Regions from separate parts of the Homo sapiens genome. Here regions 1, 2, 3 and 5 are each linked to region 4. The links are contacts of gene promoters, found by promoter capture Hi-C in blood cells and fetal thymus (Javierre and others, 2016). All regions are on one chromosome and are shown on one strand. Each heading gives the region's core, a stretch centred on a gene start or on the middle of the fragment in contact. The rest is flanking DNA. Distances are from core to core; before and after follow the strand shown. Region 1 holds the start of MIR4519 (microRNA 4519). Region 2 overlaps SRCAP (Snf2 related CREBBP activator protein). Region 3 has its middle 6.2 kb from the start of ARMC5. Region 4 holds the start of PRSS8 (serine protease 8). Region 5 overlaps ITGAD (integrin subunit alpha D).

Evidence for each region. Contacts are between HindIII fragments. The CHiCAGO score rates a contact against its expected background, and 5 or more counts as called.
Region 1: a fragment that was not itself captured here is called in contact with the fragment with the promoter of PRSS8 in region 4 in 1 of 17 cell types (monocytes); the score reaches 5.1 in monocytes.
Region 2: a contact is called between a fragment that was not itself captured here and the fragment with the promoter of PRSS8 in region 4, in 1 of 17 cell types (monocytes). The highest score is 5.0, in monocytes.
Region 3: a contact is called between a fragment that was not itself captured here and the fragment with the promoter of PRSS8 in region 4, in 14 of 17 cell types (M0 macrophages, total CD8 T cells, naive CD8 T cells and 11 more). The highest score is 11.1, in M0 macrophages.
Region 5: a fragment that was not itself captured here is called in contact with the fragment with the promoter of PRSS8 in region 4 in 5 of 17 cell types (monocytes, neutrophils, M0 macrophages and 2 more); the score reaches 8.3 in monocytes.

Annotation. Positions count from the first base shown.
Region 1 is chr16:30,874,453-30,877,152 of GRCh38, forward strand. MIR4519 (microRNA 4519) reads right to left here and starts at 871; the gene lies at 814-871. MIR762HG (MIR762 host gene) reads left to right here and starts at 1,008. Exons shown (of 3, transcript NR_110942.1): 1 at 1,008-1,034; 2 at 1,578-1,666. It also overlaps a transcript of BCL7C not described here. RefSeq lists enhancers at 1-291, 292-1,046, 581-840, 1,047-1,801, 1,111-1,320 and 1 more and a silencer at 1,721-1,780. The HindIII fragment of the contact is 2,091 bases long and covers 268-2,358 here.
Region 2 is chr16:30,726,041-30,728,740 of GRCh38, forward strand. All of the region lies in intron 25 of SRCAP (Snf2 related CREBBP activator protein), which reads left to right. Among named protein-coding and RNA genes, the nearest start is that of TMEM265, 13 kb to the right of the region's middle. The HindIII fragment of the contact is 4,495 bases long and covers 1-2,700 here.
Region 3 is chr16:31,451,999-31,454,698 of GRCh38, forward strand. No RefSeq gene overlaps it. Among named protein-coding and RNA genes, the nearest start is that of ARMC5, 6.2 kb to the right of the region's middle. RefSeq lists enhancers at 1-104, 685-1,457, 1,458-2,229. The HindIII fragment of the contact is 3,667 bases long and covers 1-2,700 here.
Region 4 is chr16:31,134,342-31,137,041 of GRCh38, forward strand. PRSS8 (serine protease 8) reads right to left here and starts at 1,386. Exons shown (of 6, transcript NM_002773.5): 1 at 1,073-1,386; 2 at 813-830. The coding sequence starts at 1,157. RefSeq lists an enhancer at 1-447. The HindIII fragment of the contact is 17,481 bases long and covers 1-2,700 here.
Region 5 is chr16:31,395,000-31,397,699 of GRCh38, forward strand. ITGAD (integrin subunit alpha D) reads left to right here. Exons shown (of 30, transcript NM_005353.3): 3 at 2,360-2,463; 4 at 2,597-2,667. Among named protein-coding and RNA genes, the nearest start is that of ITGAD, 3.0 kb to the left of the region's middle. The HindIII fragment of the contact is 5,767 bases long and covers 1-2,700 here.

The DNA of each region.
Region 1 (2,700 bases), core at 63-2,562, 260 kb before region 4:
CAAAAAACAGAAAAATTAGCCGGGCGTGGTGGCGCGTGTTTGTAGTCCCAGACACTCCTGAGGTTGAGGTGGGAGGATCACCTGAGCCCTCGGGAGGTCGAAGCTGCAGTGAGCGGAGATCGCACCGCTGCACTCCAGCCTGGGGGACAGTGAGGCGGTCTCAAAACAAAACAAAAACAAAAGGGGAGGGCGGGGGGAAGACTTAAAGACCCCTGAGCCAGGGCCATTATTATTTAACTTGGTCGGGTCTCTGAACCATTCGGAGGAAGCTTGGGTTTCTATCCTTCCCGACTGAGCCACAGACCTGAGTCTTGACTCCGGATAAATCACCCCAGACTGTTTTTCTGTCTGTGACACGGGAACGGCAGCTTCTGCCTCGCGAGGTGGAGAGAGAATGAGAAGCGCCGTGTGTGGCGCGCCTGACACGGTCAGCTCGCGGGTGGAGGCCCGGAGCAGAACGCCCTCGGGCGCCCGCTCTTGCAGCCGCACTGGAGACCGGGAATGGCTCCGGCCACGCCTCTGCCGACTGCGGCAACGCGAGGGACAGCTGGTCTCCGGGGTTGCAGCGTAACGCCCTCCTTCCCGGCCTCATCTTTCCTGACTGCATAACGGGCATACAGTGGGTTCCATGGCGCAAGGGAGCTGAAGAAGCCGCCCGCCCCCAGCTCGCCCGGGATCCTCACGCCCCTATAACGCCCCGAGGGGCCACGATGCTGCCCACAGCCCAGATCGCGAGTGCGGACCCTGCGGGAGGGTCTGGCCTAGATGCGAGTTTCCCGCCGCAGACCAGGCGAGGCCACGCGACATATCCCCTACCCGCTTACTGCAGGCCGCAGACGGAGACAGTGCAGCCCTGCGCACTGCTGAGGTTGCCCGAGGTCTCAGCCTCGGCGGGTCGGGAACACGCGGCGCGCGCCCGCGCCCCAACCGGAAGTCCGCCACCGGCCGCTCTAGCACGCGCAGGGCTGCGTCTGTGGCCTTAACCCTTCCCAAGGCTGCGCCGCCGGCCTTTGTCTCCGCGGAGCGTCACAAAGGTTGGAAGGGTCGCGGGGCCTCTGGGTGCCGAGCTGCAGATGCCTCCACTGCGAGCACAGCCCTGAGACAAGGGCCCAGGCGCCCAGCGGGGCTGGTTTCACTCAGTCCAGCCGCACCTACCCGTGCCCTCACCAGATCTTAAGATACAGACATTAAAACCTCCACCGGGCCGCGGCACAGGACAGCAGTTTTACTTTCTGTTTTTGGCATTGCATTGCCTCCATTTCCTAGAGTGCACGTAATAAATACCGCTGGTGATTCCAAAATATAAAGGTTGAAAATATTTACTTTACAAAAATTTGGTTCCCATACTGCTTTTAAGGCCATCCTCTGCACTTGGTTCCCGCTGCTCCTGATGTGGTTGAAAGATGGATGACCCCAAAGACGAGGAAAAGATTATTGGCTCCATTTTTTAGATGCGGCAGCCAGCTAAGGTCTAGACAGGGGAAGGGACTTGCCCCAAATCACAGTTAGAGCAAATCAGTCTGAATCAGGAATAACTCCATTCCTATCCCGCATCCTGCCCTTTCACTACGCCACAGCTGCCTGGCTGCCTGGAGGAACAAAGGAGGGCCGGGCAAGAACGCCATTACCAACTGCAAATCCACAGGCAAATGCAAGAGGACAGAAAGTAAGTTCTTGGGCTCTGCCCTTGTGCCGTACCCGGAGGGGTTCTGGGGTCACCAGCCAGGTGCATCCCTGCCTTCACAGCCATGCACAGCGACACCCAGTTAACTAATGGGGGGGATTATGCCACTTGCTGGGTATGCCTGTGCCACCAGTGCACTCACTCTGTGCCTGGGGAAATAACCACGGATGAATCTGGGGATCCCCTGGGCCCACTGTGAAATGGACCTGAGCTAAAACTCCATTGATCACAGGACCTCAGGGATCTTTTGGGTCTCGAGAACAGAATTGGATGCTACAGGAGAAATGTAACCAGAAAAGGATTAGGATTTTGCCAGTAGAGAAAGGGAGATGTGCTTGCTTTCATTCATTTATCATTAATGAGCACCTACTGTATGCCAGGCACCACACTAGGCCCTAGGAAGACAGAGATTATGAGACAGATGTGGCCTTATTCTAGCAGGGGAAGTGAGATGAAGGAGGTGAGAAAGAGGAAGTATAGTGACTAACCAGGGACCTGACCTAGTTTGAAGGTCAGGGAACCTTGGAGGAGGTGAAATCAAACCCAAAGCCTGAGATAAGAGAGAGAAGGGGAGGGTGGAGGGAAGGAAAGGGCTTCACAGACAGAGGGAACGGGAGTGCTAACAGCCTGGCCAGCTTCCTTGTGGTAGAAGTTCTATGCATGAGTTGGAAGAAAGCTTGGGGAAAGGGGCAGGAGAGGTGGGCAGGGGCCAAATCCAGCAGGGGCTTTTCTACCATAAGGAACTTGGTGGGAGAACTCCATGGGCAAAAACAGGTGTGGAAGGGACCAAGAAGCCCATGTGGCTGGAGGGCAGGACATGAGATGAAGATGACTAGAGCAGGGAGTGAGGAGGTGGAGAAGGTGAGCAGAGGCCAAGGCTGGGAGGCCTGAAATGCCTGGCCGCAAAACTCAGCCATTAGCCTGGAGGCCATGCAAGTGAACAGCAAGGAGGAGAGTGGAACACCAGGGAGCGGTAGGGATTGCGGGGACTGAAGGGCAGAGACTCCGCCCCCAGG
Region 2 (2,700 bases), core at 142-2,641, 410 kb before region 4:
CCCAATCCCTCCGTCCCTCCTAGTCTTGAATGACTACCATCCTACTTTTTTATTTCTCTAGTTTTGCCTATGGAGTCATAATGTATAATGTGTGGTCCATTGTGACTGGCATCTTCTACTTAGATTAATGTTCTTTGAATTTTATTGTGTTATAGCGTATATCAGTACTTCATTTGTTTTTATGTTGAATAATAATGTATGAATACCACATTTTATCCTTGAGTTGATGGAAACGTGTGTTACTTCTGCTTTATGGTTGTTATGAACAATGCTGCTGTGAACATTTCATGTACAAGTTTTTGTATGGACAGGTGTTCTCAGTTTCTGTTAGATACATACTGAGGAGAAGAATTGCTGGGTTATATTGTAACTAGGTTTTAACTGTTTAAGGAACTGCCAGACTTTTCCAAAGTGGCTGCAGCATTTGACATTACCACCAGCAGTCTGTGAGGATTCCAGTTTCTCCACATTTGAGCCAATACTTTTTTTTTTTTTTTTGAGAAGGAGTCTTGCTCTGTTACCCAGGCTGGAGTGCTTTGGCACGGTCTTGGCTCACTGCAACCTCTGTCTCCTGGGTTTAAGTGACCCCACCTCAACCTCCCTCGTAGCTGGGATTACAGGCATGTGGCACCATGCCTACCTAATTTTTTTGTATTCTTATTATTTTATTTTATTTTTGAGACAGAATCTTGCTCTGTTGCCCAGGCTGGAGTAAAGTGGCACCATCCCGGCTCACTGCAACCTCCACTTCCCAGGCTCAAACGATTTTCCTGTGTCATCTTCCCGAGTGGCTGGGACTACAGGCATGGCGTCACCACGCCTGGCTAATTTTTTTATTTTTAGTAGAGATGGGGTTTCACCATGTTGGCCGGGCTGGTCTCGAACTCCTGACCTCAGGTGATCCGCCTGCCTTGGCCTCCCAAAGTGCTGGGATTATAGACATGAGCCACTGCACCTGGCCAGATTTTTTTGTATTTTTAGTAGAGATGGGGTTTACCATGTTTGCCACGCTGGTTTCGAATTCCACACCTCAAGTGATCTGCCCGCCTCAGCCTCCCAAAGTGCTAGGATTACAGGTGTGAGCCACCATGCCTGGCACATCATCACTTTGATTATAGCCATCCTGCTGGGTGTGAAGTAGTAGTTCATTGTGATTTTGATTTGAATTTCCCTGTTGGCTAATGTTGAGCTTTATTTCATGTGGTTGAAATACCATGCTGGCCATTTGTGTATCTTTGAAGAACTATCTGTTCAGATCCTCTGCCCTTTTAAAATGGGTTGTCTTTTTATTATTGAGTTGTAAGAGTTCTTTATATATTCTGATTACAGATCCTTTTTCAGACGTATGGTTTACAAATAGTCTTTTTTTTGAGACAGTGTCTCACTTTGTCAATCAGGCTAGAGTGCAGTGGCACAGTCTCCGCTCATTGCAGCCTCCTGGGCTTAAGTGAACCTCCCATCTCAGCCCTCCAAGTAGCTGGGACTGTAGGCTTGTGCCACCATGCCAGGCTACTTGTTTGTTTCTTTTTTTGAGATGGAGACTCACTCTGTCACCAGGCTGCAGTGCAGTGGTGCGATCTCAGCTCACTGCAACCTCCGCCTCCCAGGTTCAAGCGATTCTCCTGCTCAGCCTCCCAAGTAGCTGGGACTACAGGCTTGCACCACCACGCCCAGCTAACTTTTTTGTAATTTTAGTAGAGATAGGGTTTCATCATGTTGGCCAGGATGGTCTTGATATCTTGAGCTCATGATCTGCCCGCCTCGGCCTCCCAAAGTGCTGGGATTACAGGTGTGAGCCACCGCGCCTGGCCCTTGTTTGTATTTTTTGTAGAGATGCGGTTTTGCCATGTTGCCCAAACTGGTCTTGAATAGGAGGCTCAAACCATCCACCTAGGCCTCCCAAAGTGCTGGGATTATAGGCTTGAGCCACTGCTCCTGGCCAGATTTTCTCTTTTTGCTACTATTGGGAGCTAGCCTCAAAAGGAACTAGCTCTTTGAGTTTATTGGTTTTTCCGTCTGCTAGGACACCTTTTTTCCCTCACATAGAGCACTTCAAGCCAAGAGGTGAAACTTGGTAGCAGTCAGGAAGGAGATTTGGAACACTCCTCTTTTCACAACTATCTCTTGGGGTCTAGTCTCCCTCATTTGTTCATTTTGTTAACAGATAAATGTATTGAGAGCTTAATTGTGCTAGTTACTGAGTGATTATAGTGAGCAAGGCACAGTTCATGTTGTATGGGGCCTACCGTGTAGTGGATAGATATTAGTTAAATAATCATACAGATGTGTAACTACAAGCATAATAAGTGATACAAAGAAGTTTTTCAGACTGTGAAACTGGAAGCACAAAGATGGGAAAGGATTGGGTCAAAGTCATCCAGGTGTCCTCACTGCCGGGTTGCCCATTTTCTGTCTCAGAGTGATGAGACTCGGATGTCCGGTTAGCTGTTCCCATTCCACCCCATTCCAGTCTGGCCCTTGGCAAAAACCTGGTCTGGATTTGATTGGCGCCTCTGTATCCTGGTCAGTGATTTGAAGAAGGCTATAGTCCTGGAGTTGAGTGTTACGTAGGAAAATACCCACAAATCGTCCATTCTATAAACTTGTTGGAATTGTAGATCTTAATTTTGAATATTCAGTCATTCTGCTTTGGTAGCATACAAGGAAAGATCAGTTTTCTCTAGGAGAGAAGTTACTTAA
Region 3 (2,700 bases), core at 51-2,550, 320 kb after region 4:
AAAGGGAATGGGTGTAGGAAAGGAAGAGCGGATCTCCTTTGAAGAATTATCTTTAAAAAAAATTATTTTTTTAGAGACAGGGTCTCACTCTGTTGCCCAGGCTGGGGTGCAGTGGCACAATCCTAGCTCACTGCAGTCTCAAATTCCTGGGCTCAAGCGGTCCTCCTGCCTCAGCCTCCTGAATAGCTGGGACTACAGTGAACATCACCACACCTGGCTGGTTTTTTAATTTTTTCTAGAGATGGGGTTTGCTATGTTGCCCAGGCTAGTCTCGAACTCCTGGGCTCAAAGCATCCTCTCACCTCAGCCTCTCAAAGTGCTGGGATTATAGGTGTGAGCCACCGCCTTTTTTTTTTTTTCTGATTTACTATAATATTTCTAGTAAGCCATTGGCTTAGAAACCAGATTCACTAATTAATTCATTTACCCTTTCATGATACAAAATTTTTTAACTGAGTGAGGCCTTTCCTGAGAATTGAGCACATGAGCTTTGGTGCATGGACCTGGAAATCTCTGCTTCTTGAACTCCTAGGGGCTTCCTTTACTTCATTCACTCCTGGTGCTCAGCAAATTTCTGAATGGGGGAGGTTGGCCAGCCTGGGAGAGGTCACCCACGCCAGGAAGTCTCAGTACCTCTCTATTTATCCTATCACTTGGGAATCCTCTAGGATCTGTTTCAGGGAGTCTCTGGTTAGCCCTGAGACATAAGTGGTGCGGGTGAGACTCCTGGGGCCTATCTCAGAGGTCCTCACACCCCTGAGATTAAATCAGTCAGGAGGCAGGGTGGAGAGAGGAGTGTCCTATCAGGTCTGAGGAGGTTGTCAACTTCCTGGACTTCTTGCTAAGGACTCCTCTTCCCACCCTTCATGGGTAGCTGAGGTCAGGGAATCTGTAGGGACAAGACTTTCTTTTAAATGCTAATCTGCTGACTAACCCTGAGTCTGGGAATGCCTCCAAAATGTCAAGCTGATGTGTTTTTTTATTTTTTGGTTTTGTTTTTTTTGTTTTTTTTTTGAAACGGAGTCTCACTCTTTCATCCAAACTGGGGTGCAGTGGCACGATCTTGGCTCACTGAAACCTCCACCTCCTGGGTTCAAGCAATTTTCCTGCCTCAACCTCCCAAGTAGCTGGGATTACAGGCACGTGCCACCATGCCTGGCTAATTTTTATATTTTTGGTAGAGACAGGGTTTCACCACGTTGGGCAGCCTGGTCTCGAACTCCTGACCTCAGGTGATCTGCCCACCTCGGCCTCCCAAAGCGCTGGGAATACAGGCGTGAGCCACCGTACCAAGACATCCCACAGCACCAGCCTGTGTGTGTCTCGCCAGGCTCAGAGCTGGGAACCTGGAACCCAGGACTGGGTGAGCTCAGAGACATAACTGTGACTGTACTGGAGTCAGTCTTATGCCCAGAGCTAAGCAGAAGCAGGGCCAGCCCAGAGGAGACGATGTTACCGACTCCCACCCCGTCCTGTCTAGCGCTTAGAGTACCTCTGTACTGGCTTGCTTCCTACAGTTGCTCTGGGAGGAATGTGTGCCAGAGACCCTGACCTCTGACCCAGGCATGCAAGGGTCTGCCTTGCCTAGTTGAGCCTGTGCACTCTGTCTCTGCCTCCCTTCAGATAGGGAAAGGAGCTTCAAATTACGGGGTGATGTCATAGCACGGAGTGGAGATGGGGTGGCAGGGAGACAGGGAGGCTCAGGGAAGGAGGCCAGGTATTTCACAGAGGAGTTCTGGGGGAGAAGAAGGAAAACGGCAGAGAAGGGAACAGGAAGGGGTGAAGGAAAGGGGAAAAGTGCCTTCACTGCATGGAAAGGTCCTTCTCACCCACAGTGGGGTGGGATGGAGACTGTAACCTCAAGTACTTTTCTGCAGGGGACAGGCAAGTAACACATATGAAACGTGCTGAGTCAGGGATGCAAGAGGGAGTGTCCCTGTTCCTATGTCCAGGACAGCCACTACTCAACGAACTGCTGCCATAAAAATCCAATGTTGCAGCATCTTCTGATATAAATAATAAAGCAGGCCGGGTGTGGTGACTGACGCCTGTAATCCTACCACTTTCGGAAGCCGAGGTGGGTGGGGGAGGGAAGGGCCGGGGCAGGGGATCTTTTCTTTTTTTTTTTGAAACGGAGTCTTGCTCTGTCACCCAGGCTGGATTGCAGTGACAGGATCTCCGCCCACTGCAAGCTCTGCCTCCTGGGTTCATGCCATTCTCTTGCCTCAGCCTCTTGAGTAGCTGGAACTATAGGCGCCTGCCACCATTTCCAGCTAATTTTTTGTATTTTTAGTAGAGACAGGATTTCACCTTGTTAGCCAGGAAGGTCTCGATCTCCTGACCTCGTGATCCGCCCACCTAGGCCTCCCAAAGTGCTGGGATTACAGGCGTGAGCCACCGTGCCCGGCCAGGAGGGGATCATTTGAGCCTAGGAGTTCAAGACCAGTCTGCAACCTGGCAAGATCCTGTCTCAATTAAAAAAAAAAAAAAACAAAAAAAACAACAACAAACCAAGCCCCAGAAATCGACTGTGATGTGAAATCTCCTTATTTAAATGTTGGCTCTTTAAAAAAATAAAAAGACCAGGTTAGGTGGCTCACATCTGTAATCCCAGCATTTTGGGAGGCTGAGACCAGAGGAACACTTGAACTCAGGAGTTCAAGACCAGCCTGGGCAACACAGTGAGACCCCGTCTCTACA
Region 4 (2,700 bases), core at 136-2,635:
TCCCTGCATCCTCTCCACAGCCCCAGGAGACGGACATGACCAGCTTCATTTTAGAGGTGAGGAGTCTAAGGCTTAGAGAAGTGGGGGGACTTGGCCAATGACACACAGCCAGTGCATGGGGAAGCCAGGATTGAAAGCCGGTCTGACTCAGAGCTGGGTTGGGTGCCTTCCAAGAAAGGAGACCCTTGGTTTGGTTCCCTCAAAACCACCTCCAGGATGGGAACGGTGGCTCACACCTGTAATCCCAGCACTTTGAGAGGCCAAGGCAGGAGGATCGCTTGAGCCCAGGAGTTCAAGACCTGCCCGGCCAACATAGTGAGACCCACATCTCTACCAAACAAAAACAAAAACAAAAACAAAACACAACTAGCTGGGTGTGATGGCATGCACCTGTAGTCCCAGCCACTAGGGAGGCTGAGGTGGGGAGGTGGGAGGATCACGTGAGCCCGGGAGGCTGGATCACTGAGACTGCAGTGAGCTGCGATCGGGCCACTGCACTCCAGCCTGGGTGACGACAGACCCAGACCCTGTTTCAAAAGACAAAAACCAAACCAAAAAAACCACCTCGATTGCCCCACTTTGGGAGTCAGACGTGGATCTGAATCCCAGCTGCACCTTCACTGGCAGTGTGCCCTGGGCAAGTCCCTGCTTCTCTGCCCATAAGGTGAGGGCTAAAACCCCCCACTCTGGGAGCCCTAAGAGAATCTAGTTGGAAGGCAGCCCAGCTGAAGGCCAGGCACTGGTTAAACCCCAGGGGAATCCGATCCAAGTCACCTCCCCCTCCCCTCCTCCCTCTCCGAGGAAAGTCTCACCTTCTGCCCCTTCCGCTCCTAGAAAGAAAGAGAAAGAGGAGGGGTGAGTAGGGAAGACTCGGGTTCCCTGACCCCTTAGTACCCACCACTGCTCCAGAGGGCTGGCCCCTTCCCTGACAGAGCCAAGGTGGGAAAGAGAGGCCAAGAGCTAGGGAGGCCGGGGGTTTTCTTGGGCCCCAGACAAGGGCACACCCCAGAAAATGATCACGCCGGCTCCCTCCAGTGCATTGTCCCCACCCTGCCCCCACGTCCTCACTTACCTGTCCCCGACCGGAGTAATCCAAGATAGAGCAGAATGGCCACAGCCCCCAGCTGCCCAGGCCCCAGGACCCCCTTCTGGGCCATGGCCCAGGACAAGGGCCCCTGGGGCAGACTCCAGGCACGCAAGGTAGGAAGCCTTGGGGTGGTGTCGAAGGCAGGACCCAGATGTTGGCTCAGAGGGAAGGATCCCAGAATCCGGGCTGGAAAGGGGCAGCAAGTGTCCAAGGCTGGCCTCTAAGGCAGGGAGCGGCCGCAACGGGAGACGCCTGGAGTATCCGAAGCGAGCAGTGTGGACGAGTCACCAGCACCGTCTGGCCACGCAGGGTCCTCCCAGGAGTGGCTGCACCTACCTGCCCGCCCCTCCCCTGGCCCCGCCCACTGGCTGGGCTCCGCCAGCTCCTCTTGCCACCAAAGTCATGAGTCCTTTCAGAGCTGCAGGCCCGTGTGTGTGCATGTATGTGTCCGTGTGTATGTGTGTGCACATGCATAGGCCTTTTGTGTGTGTGTCCCGGTGTGTAGTGTGTATGTGGTGTGTGTGTATGCCTGTGTAGGCTGTGTGTGTCCTCTTATGTGGTGTGGTATGTGTGTGTGTGTGCATGTACAGGCTGTATGTGCACATGTGTAGGCTGTGTGTGTCCCTGTGTGTGTAGTGTGTGTGTCTGAGTGTGCGTGCATGCACGTGCATGTGGTTTGTGTGTGTGTGCAGTCTCCCTGGAATGTGACGACTCTCCTCCGCCTCAGGTCTTTCAGGTTATCTCAGGCCAGTTATGCCCCCCAGGGCCTGGCCCCAGCTTTTATTATCTGGAGCCACAGCCACTCCTCCCTTCTTCCCTCCCTCCTTAGGCTGGTTATGGGAGCTTAAGACACTATGGTCTGTCCCCTGCCAGGCCCTTTCTGCGATGCCTGCACCTCATGGGTGGTGGCGAGCTTGTGGAGCAGCACCAATCATCCCACAGACATTTCCTAAGTGCCTATGATGTTCCCAGGTGTCCAGGACAAAACAGGCACCAGCCCCGTCCCCCTTGAGCCCTGAGCTCATGGTGAAGTAGGGGTGACACACTTCAATCAAATAATCACAAACAGGCTGGCAAGGTGGCTAGTCGGCTTTGGGAGGCTGAGGCTGGAGCATCACTTGAAGCCAGGAGTTCCAGACCAGCCTGGGGAATATAGCGAGGCCTCATCTCTACAAAGAAATATAAAAATTAGGCAGGCATTGTGGCGCATGCCTATGGTTCCAGCTATTTGGGAGGCTGAGGCAGGAGGATTGCTTGAGCCCAGGAGTTCAACGAAGCATTGAGCTATGATCACGCCACTGCACTCCAGCCTGGGCAACAGAGGGAGACCCTGTCTTAAAAAAAAAAATTGCAATTACACAATAATTTCAAGCTAGGAATAGTGATGAAAAAGAATGGCGTGAGCACACCACAGCCTGGCAAAGGCTGGCATTGTGAAAGGGTCCTCGAGGAATTGCCTTGGAAACTGAGACCGAAAGGGATTATAAAAGGTGGTAAGGCGAAGATGGGGGGATGGGGTGCAGAGGGCAGAGGCTCAGGGAAAGAAGGCTTGCCGTGTGGCTGCGGTGGGAGTGAGGCATGTATCCTCCTTGAGGGCCACTCTGGCCGTTCAA
Region 5 (2,700 bases), core at 53-2,552, 260 kb after region 4:
TGCATTTGTGTTTTGCAAGTAAAGAATGATGGCAGGGCTGGGCACCATGGCTCACGCCTATAATCCCAACGCTTTGGGAGGCTGAGGCGGGCAGATCATCTGAGGCCAGGAGTTTGAGACCAGTTTGGCCAACACAGCAAAACCCCATCTCTACTAAAAATGCAAAAAAAATTAGCCGGGCATGGTGGCAGGCATCTGTAATCCCAGCTACTTGGGAGGCTGAGGCAGGAGAATCGCTTGAACCTGGGAGGTGGAGGTTGCAGTGAGCCGAGATCGTGCCACTTTACTCCAGCCTAGGTGACAGAGTGAGACTCCGTCAAAAAAAAAAAGTCATGGGAGAAGGGAGATGCACTGGGGGTTTGGAGCCTTAGCTCAGCAGCAGCCCCACCTCCCACCGCCTCCTGAAGGGTGGTGAAGGGGTATCAGCTGCTGGCTCCCCCACCCATGTGGGAGCAATGACCGCTGCTACCTTCCGCCCCTGGCATGAGCTGGGTAAAGTCAGTTAGGGGCGCTCACTCTGGGAGTACCCCGAGGGAGTGGGACACTACATAGCAAATAAAAAACGTCAGGACAGGTTGAGGAAGAGAGCAGAAGAAAGGTAAGAGCCCCCCAACCCCAAGAGACCCCACAGTTTTATTTCAAATTGGGACCCACAAATTATGAACCTGCCCCCACTTCCAGGAGCTCACATTCTCCTGTCCCAGAGAGTTCAAGTCACAATGTGACACAGGTGTCACCAAGGTCTGGGGGGCGCAGGCAGGGAGAGAGCAGACCCAGGAGGGTTCCATGGAGGAAGTGGTGCTGGCAGTGAGCCCCAGTGGACAGGAAGGCTCAGTTGGTCACGAGGAGCTATAAGAGGTCACCGAGCTCCAACCGCGCACCCCTCTCCCTTCCTCATGTGACTGGCAGTCTGGGGGGATGGAAGCAAGCACCAGGCACCAGGCTTTTGTTTTTCTTTATTTGGAAATGTGGTCAACTGAGGTGCACAAATCTGAAAGACCCAATCTGATAAAGGATACACATGTGCGTGCCTGGGTGAGCCCCACCTAGGTCAGCTGCTCCAGTGTCAAATCCCACAGGCACAGGGCTGCCGTGGACCCCTTCTCATCACCCAACATCCCCAGAGAACCCCTGGTCAGACTTCTGTCACCATCAGTTTTTTGGGCCACATTTTAAAAAAAGAATACATTGGCTGAGTGCAGTGGCTCATGCCTATAATCCTAGAACTTTGGGAGGCTGAGGCGGGTGGATCACCTAAGGTCAAGAGTTCAAGACCAGCCTGACCAATATGGTGAAACCCTGTCTCTACTAAAAAATACAAAAATTAGCCTGGCGTGATGGCAGGTGCCTGTAATCCCAGCTAGCTGGGTGACTGAAATAGGAGATTTGCTTGAACCTGGGAGGTGGAGGTTGCAGTGAGCTGAGATCACGCCATTGCACTCCAACCTGGGTGACAGAGTGAAACTCTGTCTCAAAAAACATATGGGTTGATGGGTTACACTAAAGTTTTGCTCATCGTTTGTATCAGCAGGTTCCAAACTGCTACCTCTCTAGCCAATGCTCAGATTTTCTTCACAAAGCCTTAGGCATCCCCTGAATCATGATGCACAGGGATTGTAGCTTTCTGTAAAGGAGCGGCACCTAGAAGGAACCCTCACATGGCCATTTAATGAAGCCTTGCTTGGCGCATTAAAATACACCAGTATCTGTCTGCTTTTCTCACAGACAGGAGATTGTGGGTAGTGAGAAAACATTTCCAAAATTAAAAAACTTTCCCACTCAGGGAGTTTTGCAAATAAACCCTTGACTCTACATAACTATAGATATAGTTATGGATCCTAGTACACTGCTTTACATTGGCCAATTGAAATTGCTTATACAATATTTAAATTGGTCCAATGAATTACAGAATCAACTATTTGTTTTGAAAGCACATGTCTTCAGGAAATTGTTCCAATTAACTTGAGATGATCTTATTTCTTGGGTGGTTCAAAATAATGGCAACTCAGAAACGCAATGTGCTTACCCATGATTGGGAAATGCCATTTTGGTCTTTAAATAGGTTTTTTTTTTTTTTTTTTTTTTTTTTTTTGGTGAATGTTAAAAAGAAATTTCTAAACATAAATACACACATACGTACTTATGCACACTCAAAACCAAATAAACCCCAGCATGGCCCCTGGGCATCTGTGAGTTACACTTGGGCCCTGATTTCTGAATATTCTGCCAAGTGGCAAATGCCAGGAATTTCCCCCACAGAGTCTCGCTTCCCCATGGAGGGACACTTCCTCACCCCCAAGTGCCCGCTGCTCCCACCCCTCCTGTGGCTGCAGTGACATGGCCATGGTTGTGTCTCCAGACTCGTGGTGGGAGCACCCCTGGAGGTGGTGGCGGCCAACCAGACGGGACGGCTGTATGACTGCGCAGCTGCCACCGGCATGTGCCAGCCCATCCCGCTGCACAGTGAGTGACCACCTGGGAATTGGGCCCCTCAACCCTCCTGGACCCAACTGTGCCCCCGCTTAGCTTCCAGTCCAGACCTTCCCCGCAAATGAGTGTGTGCTGTGAGTGAGACCCCGCGTGTCTGCCCTTGCAGTCCGCCCTGAGGCCGTGAACATGTCCTTGGGCCTGACCCTGGCAGCCTCCACCAACGGCTCCCGGCTCCTGGTGAGTGAGTGTCTTGGGCCACGGGGGGGTGGG